3 separate regions of the Homo sapiens genome follow, and all the other regions are linked to region 1. Evidence: promoter capture Hi-C in 16 types of primary human blood cells and fetal thymus (Javierre and others, 2016). All regions are on one chromosome and are shown on one strand. The core of a region is centred on a gene start or on the middle of the fragment in contact, and the rest is flanking DNA. Distances in the headings are between cores, read along the strand shown. Region 1 holds the start of BTBD16 (BTB domain containing 16). Region 2 has its middle 9.3 kb from the start of SPADH. Region 3 has its middle 13 kb from the start of DMBT1.

Region 1 (2,773 bases), core at 274-2,773:
GTACTGGGGACACTAACATTTTGTCTGCCATACATGCTGCAGAAGTGTATCATTTGTCTTTTGACTTTGTTTATGGTAAACAAATTGTTTCATTAGTATGAAAATATGTCCTGTGTGTGTGTGTGTGTGTGTGTGTGTGTATTTCCTTTGCCAGTCTCTAATTTGAAAACATATCTGGGGCCAGGCCCAGTGGCTCATGCCTGTAATCCCAGCACTTTGGGAGGCCAAGGCAGGTGGATCACCTGAGGTCAGGAGTTCAAGACCAGCCTAACCAATATGATGAAACCTTGTCTCTACTAAAAATACAAAATTAGCTGGGTGTGGTGGCGCATGCCTGTAATCCCAGCTACTTGGGAGGCTGAGGCAGGACAGTCACTTGAACTCTGGAGGTGGAGGTTGCAGTGAGCCAAACTCTCACCATTGCACTCCAGCCTGGGAAACAAGAGCGAAACTCTGTCTCGAGGGGAAAGAAAAAAGAAAAAGAAACGTGTCTGGGTACAAACATGGCCCTGGTGTTTGTACCCAGCTGCTGGTGTCTTCATCTGCAATTGCATCCATGTATGCATGTGTGTTAAGAGCATCTTTGGCTGTTCAACCAGCTTTCAGAGGTGCACTTGAGTTTACAGCAATGTGTGTTTTCCTTGATGGCTGAGTTTCCACCTTGCGTGAGGCTTCTCCCACCTCAGGTAACACATACATGCTTTTCTGATCCCTTTACCTCACAGGAGCCAGGATGATGAACTCCTCAGCTTAAAGCCCTTCACCAGCTTCCCACTGCCCTAGACATAGACCCCCAAATCCTCAACGTGGCCTTAAGGAATCTGAGAAGAGAGAAGAGGGTTCCATTCTAAAGCAGACCTGGTCAGCACAGAATAAACCCCACACGGGACTCGCTATGCCCACAGAGCACCGCTTCAGTTACAGAGAGAGGGAGGCTGGGGTTTGCACTCAGCTACCCAAAGCTCCTGCTTTCTTAGATCAATATCTAAGAACTTTTTTAGCTGATCTTGAAATCCAGAGACATCTCAATGGCCTGGAAATGTGTTCTTTTTTCATCCCACCAGGCAATCTGCCCCTTCGTGTGTTTTGAGAGCCTGTGCCAAGGTCCCTGTGGGCGGGCAGGAGCTACCTACAATGGTCTCTCAGCTCCCAGACCCCTCCTGATTCCCTAAACTCCCTCCCTGCCAAGTAGACCAGAGGCACCCAAGTCTAACACTGGGTCTAGACAGGTGCTAAGACAGCACCTGTCACTAGGACACATTTCTTGGTCTCTGAAGTGGCTGAAAAATACCCATTGTACTTACCGTTCCAAAGCCCTTTTGCCCACCACAGGCGTGTTTACAGGGGAAGTGTGCTGAGTGGAGGAACTCCCATCACACTGGCCTCTGAGTTACAGGAGAGCTGGGGGCGCCTTCTGAGCCTGAAGCCTGGAAGCGCTCATCACATCTGGGGCTCCCCCTTTTCTTCTTATGGGCCAAGGTGCTTTGACAGGGGGAGCTTGCCTTGGTTTCCTGGGTGGTTGTGAGCACCACGGCAACGGCAGGGAAGCTTCCAAGCACTTCCTGTTCCAGGGCCAGGTTTCAACTCAGGCTCGGGCTGTGTCCAAGGCCCTGGCTGATGGGGAGAAGCTGTGAGTGATGGCATCTCAGAGACCAGTGTGGGTGCCATGTGCCTCCATTCCTGTTCCTCACAGCACCTGGGGCAACCCAGGGCACAGCCTCAGTGAGAACCAACCCCCAAATCTTCAGGCTTCATCTGTCAAAGGAGAAGATTAGACTAGAAGCTTCTCAGATGCCTCCCAGCTCTGGCATTCTGGGGTGCTCTATTTCTAGCATTTTCTATCTGTGTTTTGACAAACATATTTCAATAAAAATTGAGCATTCCGCATTATTAAAAGCTATGCCTAATGAAGTACTTTGCTGATGATGATTTTTAATGCTGCTCTCTCTGGGAGCTAAGGACTGCCTAAAAGTCAAGGACAAGACCAAGAGCCTTCAAGCTGGCATCCAGAGTGGAAATGTTTGGGATTTGTTTGTTTTGTTTTGCTTTTTTTTTTTCTCTGAGATGGAGTCTCACTCTATCGCCCAGGCTGGAGTGCAGTGGTGTGATCTTGACTCACTGCAACCTCCGCCTCCTAGGTTCACCGGGTTCAAGCAATTCTTGTGCCTCAGCCTCCTGAATAGCTGGGATCACAGGTGCCCGCCACCACACCGGCCTAATTTTTGTATTTTTAGTAGAGACAGGGTTTCACCATATTAGCCAGGCTGGTCTCGAACTCCTGACCTCAGGTGATCTGCCCACCTCGGCCTCCCAAAGTGCTGAGATTACAGGTGTGAGCCACCGCACCTGGCCCTAAGTGCAATCTTACAGTGTCCTCAGCGACGTGGCCTGTGAAGCCCATGACCCAAACTAGGGGATGGGGAGGTGGAGGCCATGTGGGTCAGAGTCACATGGGTCACCACGGGTCCATCAAAGGCCTGGACCACCACCCCAGGGATCACAGAAATCCCTAGTTACAGTAATAGGAACCAGGAGGCAGTACAGCTTTTAAGACCCAAGGCCAGCCTCTCCTAGGCCACATACATCCTAAAGTAAAACGGGAAAGTAGCTGCGCTGCCTCCTGTGGCTGTGATCTAGAAACTACGAAACACTCTATAAATGGGAGGTACCCCTGAATTTGTCTCCCGCCTCAGCCCTCAAATCCTGTGATTCTACTCCTCCCAACACCATATTCTGCTTTGCACAGAAGCCGATCGCTGTGGAATGTTCTGTG
Region 2 (2,773 bases), core at 191-2,690, 390 kb before region 1:
GCCCCCCATGCTGGAGAGGAGTTGACAGAGCTGGGGGGATGTTCCAGGAAGGAGACCCCTAAGAGGTCCAGCCTCATGTCTGAGCCTCTCAAATGCTCCACCCAGCCGTCCTGCCCCAAACCACCCCAGTGCACACATCTCTGCACCAGCAATGCCTACAGGGCCCATGAGGAAGTGCCTCTCTCTCCTTGTCCTTCAGTTCGCCCCACTCAGGTGACTCCACTCCTGGTCATGGAACCTGCCCAGCACGTCCTTTGCAGTCTTCCCAGACCTCCCCATGCCGGAGGCCAGGCCTGAGCTCCACCTCACTGGGAAGCCTGGTGTGATCAGCGCATGTGGGGCCGACCTCAGACCTCACAGTGTCTGCAGCTTCCACCCATTGCCTGGTGGACGTGTCGGGGGCCATTGCTTCTTGTGCTGCCACTTGACTCTGTGTGAGCTGGTTTCAGTACTCAACTGAATACAAGCCTCTGGGGATACAGACTGGGCATTATTCTACTCATGTGTCAACATGAGTTGCTCCAGGCTATAATCGTATGTCCCAATGCATTTTTTGTACTACCTGTACTCAATACTTGGCCACTGGAAAGCGGTCTCACCTTTTTTTCTGGCAGTCACAGAAACATCTCTATATGCAGCATGCCACTCAGCTGGCTTCCACAGAGAAGGGGAGAATCAGCAGGTTTTCCCCTTCCCCACCTACCTTCTGAGTCACTATGGTAATATGCATCCCACAAAGAATGTGGATGGTTGGCTGAAAGTTCTGTTATATGTGATGGTCATAATATTGGAAGAGGATTGGTAGGTCAGGGACATATCTTTACACATTTTGCTCAGGGATCTGGACCCCAGAGATCCATCCAAGACTTCTACCTGTTCACTCCCATAGGTGAGGCTGTGGGGCAGAGAACTGACAGGTGTCAGCATTTGGAATCAGCCTAACTCCAGCAGGCAGCTTCCTCCCCAGCGAGTGGCACCAGCTCTCATTAGCTTACTTCTCAGAAGTGCAAGGCCCGGGGCGAGCAAGGAATGGAAAGTCTAACAGCTCTTCTGCACACAGATTAGTCTCTTTCCATAACCCCTGAATAAAATAAATGTTTTCTTCACCAGGACTGCAGGCGTCTTCCGAGTGCCCTTGGAAGCCCTGCCTGTGGATGGGAATACCACTCAGGAATTTTAATTCCAGCCACCAGCTGTGTTTCAGGCCCCACAAGCTACAAAATCTGCATCTCAGGGACATGTGTTTTCAGCCACAGCCTCTGTGTCAGGATGAGATGCTCCAGACATGAGTGTGTGGATGCCACTCTGTGATTCCTGCCCTTGGCAAATAGAGGGGCAACAAGGGTCCCCAGCCCAAGCTTGGCTTCCCTGACTCAAGGCAGGGAGGGGCCTCCATTTCTTACCTACAGTGAGATATTGTGGACATGGAATGTCGCCCTCCTGAGGGGTCTCCCCACTCCTCTTACCCCCTTCAGTCTTCAAACCTGACCTCTCATCCTCAATTAGCCCCCAGCAAGCTTTATGTACATGGGAGAGTGTTTACAGCTTATTTGAAGTATGAGAAGACAGTTAAGACATATCCCATTAGGACACACACAGGGTTGACTTCATACTAGTTTTGCTTTTGGCCCAGCCTGAGTGCTTCCTTGATGCCAAGGACAGTGAGATCTAAAACCAATCTTTGAAAAGGGCAAAAGGACAATACAGGAAAATGTTCAGAGCTGCCAATCCTTCTGAGCCCGGAAAAATGGTGGCACAGGGAATTCCCAACTCCAACCTCCTTCTCTCCTTGTTTCTCCATCTTGGTCTCCTGTGCTGCAAGTCCTTTTTCAGAATCACTGGAGCCCGTGTTGGGCAAATGGTCTAAGTTCTGTATCTGAGGCAGCCATCCAAAAGATGTCCTTTGTCACACAGAGCACCTGCATAACCTTGAGGTCCCAGCCCAAAAGCCAGTGTGGAGGGAAAGGGGGACCTTAGTCACATATATTCCATCATCTTTCTCATCCACATCCTGGGTTGTGTTTGGCTTTGTCTGGAATTGATGGAAATGTGGCTGCCATGCTCAATCAAAACAGACTGTCTTGGGTATAAATGCTACAGGGTTTTCTGCCTTCTGGGATCTTATCACTGCTTTCATTCATTCAATCATTCATTCATGTATTCATTCATTAACAATTTTGCCTTGAACCCCAAAAGAGAGCTTTCATTGCAGTGGCGTCAAAGAATGAAACAAGTGTCGGTGTACATTGAAAAGACAACTCGGCCTTTTCTGAAGGTATCTAGTAGGGTGCAAAAGAAAGAGCTCTGCCCGTCTGGGAAGGAGTCACGCAGACACTACAGAAGAGCTGGGCCTCCAGCTGAATCATGAAATCCTCGTAGAGGACCCTAAGGATAGGGCAGATGAGTCTGACAGGGGTAGAAGTAGGCGTTCTCATCAGAGCCCAGTGTGAGCAATGGCATGGAGCTGCTTCACAGGTGGTGCCAGGAACCCCAGTGTGGAGGGGGCCGAGGGCAGGAGTGGGTGGAGGGGAGGAGAGGTCCAGGAGCCACATTGGGAAGTATTTTGCAATGCAGGCTAAGGAGAGAGCACCTGACCTGGAAGACAGGGAGGCACTAAATGCATTTGCAGCAGGAGTGGAAGCCTCCAATTCTATTTAGAGGCCTCTGGGTTGGGTGGGGGTAAACTGGCAAGACGCCATGTGGATTTCATCCCAGCAAACTATACCATCAACAAAGGAAATCACATCCTGAGCACTCACTTGAGGAAAGGAAA
Region 3 (2,773 bases), core at 137-2,636, 280 kb before region 1:
AGAGTAAGAGATCATTAAAAGTCCTTTTTGTGTTTCTATGTTGCTAAATGCAGTGGCAGACTGACAGTTTGCTCAAGACTGATTCCAAATTCGGGGCCATGAGCTGTGCTGGGCAGTATATAAGCATCATCGGGTGTGTTGGTTTAAAATTTGCATGCCTGGGCCTCACACCCCACGGATTTTCATATGCTAAGGTTGATATAAGGCCTAGAGATTTTTTTCAAGCTTCCCAGGTTATTTTAATTGTGGTGAAATAGACACAATTCCCAGGCGAAGGTGATGCATGGCCAGGTGTGTGAGAACTGAGGCCTACAGATGCTGAGCATGCCCGCCTGGCTACAAACCCAGGTGGAGATTCACATTGATGCAGTCTCATATTCATTTGGGAATAGAAGAAAGGAAGTTTGGGCTGCAAGGCAGTGATCTCAAAGAGCTCATAGAGGACTCTGTATTTAATTCAGTAGGAAATGGGGAGCTCTGGCAGGTTCTTGACGAATTTTATAAAGTGGTCAGAGATGAATTTTATAAAGACAGAAGATAGAATAAGAAATGGCGGTGTGTCTGTATTGAGATGCATGGAGATGCACACATTTCTTGAGCACAACTGCACCAAATAGCCTGTGCCAGGGGTCTGGAAAGCTGCAATCCCAGCCTGAGGAATTTATAATCCAGCTGGGGAGAAAAGTCACTGGTGCGTTGGAAAATAACCGATGAAAACCACTAAGCCACTTCAAGACCTGTGAATCAGAACTGGCACTAGAGATGTGCACTACAAACCTCAGAAGACACTTGATTTTAAGAAAAAAAACTTAGGTGAAATCAAAGACCTCTGTAAGCTTGAATTTGGAGAACAGCTAAGAGTTAGATGGACGATAGTGAAAGATTTCTGAGACAGTACCTGGCAGTGCCTAGACATTCATAAGTTCGAATCTTCATTTATGTCATGGATTACTTTTTTAGAAATAGAAAACCACTGGTTGTTTTGAATTATTACTTGAAGAAATTGTTTTTTAAATTTAAAGGTGAAAATAAAGCCACTAACAGAGCCCAGGTTGTCTGTCATGCTGTATCAGGAGGGCAGCATGTGCCAGTGCCTGGCAGAAGCCAGGACTGCATGGATTTGAGGGATTGGATGACGCTTCCCAGAGCAGTGTAGGGCTTACTCTGGGCCCCATGGGATGCTGTCAAGATGATCCTTCACATTCCTGGGAAACATGTCCTCAGATCTTACAAGTGTCTGACCACAAACCACTTTAGAAAATTCCAGGCCAGGCACGGTGCCTCACACCTGTAATCCCAGCACTTTGGGAGGCCGAGGCAGATGAATTACTGGAGCCCAGGAGTTCGAGACAACGTGACAAAACCTGGGCAACGTGACAAAACCTTGTCTCTACAAAAAAATTAGCTGGGCGTGGTGGAGCACACCTATAGTCCCAGCTACTTGTAGGGGGCTAAAGCAAGAGATCGCTTGAGCCTAGGAGGTCGAGGCTGCAAAGAGCCAAGATCATGCCACTGTACTGCAGCCTGGGTAACAAAGTGAGAGCCTGTCTCAAAAAAAAAAAAAAAAAAGAAAGAAAGAAAAGAAGAAAGAAAATTCTAATGTCTTGACAAGAAAGCAGTTAGCATGAGTTTAAAATGAGGTATAATTTGATTCATACTTGGACTTAAAATGGTCTCTTCAACAAATTGCTGCAACAAGTGATCAAAATGTAATTCCCAAACCATTTTAAATTTTACAATGAAATAACAAAAGAAAGTCTAATTTTTTTAGAAGCAAGGGCCTTGCTATGTTGCCCAGGCTGGTCTTGAACCCCTGGACTCAAGCAATCCTCTCCCCTCAGCCTCCTGAGCAAGAGTTACCATGCCTGGCTCCATTCTTTTTTTAAGGATAATATGTTTCATTTTTAAAGAGCAAAATATATTAAGGGAAGCTTTTACTTTACATTTTTTATAAAATAACCCTTCCAAACAAAGGTGTTTAAGAAGGATGATATGTTTGTATTTTTATCACATGCAGTGGAGATATTCAGATGGAAAAATCTCCACATTAATCTTCCTTGATTCAATCAAACCATGCCACAAACCTCCCATTCCCCAGTGTTGCTTAGGAGGCCCACATCCATCATCCTCAGGGGTCCTCCTGCCTCCTCGGATCATGCCAAGGTCCCAAATGTGGTCTCGTGTGCTTCAGCCCCGACCCCGTCTCTCCCTGTGGTTCTCTGACGCTGTATTGAAACCTGGTCCTCTCCAGTCTGCCCGTCACTGCAGCCTTGTAGAAGCAGATCTTGTGTGACATGCTTCCTGCCCAGGCCAGTTGGCTCAAGCAGTGGTGGGTGACTCTACTGTCCAAGCATCTGGGTTTAGTGCCCATGCCTCTGCTGGCCCCCAGGTGGCCAGCCCCAAAACTCTGCTCTGTGATTTAAAGTAACCATAGCACTCTGTTACTGAAGAAGGACCCACGCAAGTTTTCGTCCTGGAGCAGGGAAAGATACTACTAAGGCAGGAGAATGGCATGAACCCGGGAGGCAGAGGTTACAGTGAGCCGAGATCGCGCCACTGCACTCCAGCCTGGGCGACAGTGCGAGACTCCGTCTCAAAAAAAAAAAAAAAAATTAAGGTGCAAAGACAAAAAGTAAGTTTGCGTTTTGATTATACCATGGATTATGTTTATTCAATGTATCAACCATACTAGTGAATTTCTAAAGGATAAATATAACTTTCAAATAAGGCACAAAATAATAAAATGAACAACATACCATCATACATAGGCACC

Evidence for each region. The method cuts DNA at HindIII sites, captures the fragments that hold promoters and counts their contacts. A CHiCAGO score of 5 or more calls a contact.
Region 2: a contact is called between a fragment that was not itself captured here and the fragment with the promoter of BTBD16 in region 1, in 1 of 17 cell types (M1 macrophages). The highest score is 5.5, in M1 macrophages.
Region 3: a contact is called between a fragment that was not itself captured here and the fragment with the promoter of BTBD16 in region 1, in 3 of 17 cell types (M1 macrophages, endothelial precursors and total B cells). The highest score is 6.8, in M1 macrophages.

Annotation. Positions count from the first base shown.
Region 1 is chr10:122,270,046-122,272,818 of GRCh38, reverse strand. BTBD16 (BTB domain containing 16) reads right to left here and starts at 1,523. Exons shown (of 16, transcript NM_144587.5): 1 at 1,305-1,523. The HindIII fragment of the contact is 5,650 bases long and covers 1-1,550 here.
Region 2 is chr10:122,662,158-122,664,930 of GRCh38, reverse strand. No RefSeq gene overlaps it. Among named protein-coding and RNA genes, the nearest start is that of SPADH, 9.3 kb to the left of the region's middle. RefSeq lists an enhancer at 1-236. The HindIII fragment of the contact is 159 bases long and covers 1,361-1,519 here.
Region 3 is chr10:122,545,974-122,548,746 of GRCh38, reverse strand. No RefSeq gene overlaps it. Among named protein-coding and RNA genes, the nearest start is that of DMBT1, 13 kb to the left of the region's middle. The HindIII fragment of the contact is 1,095 bases long and covers 839-1,933 here.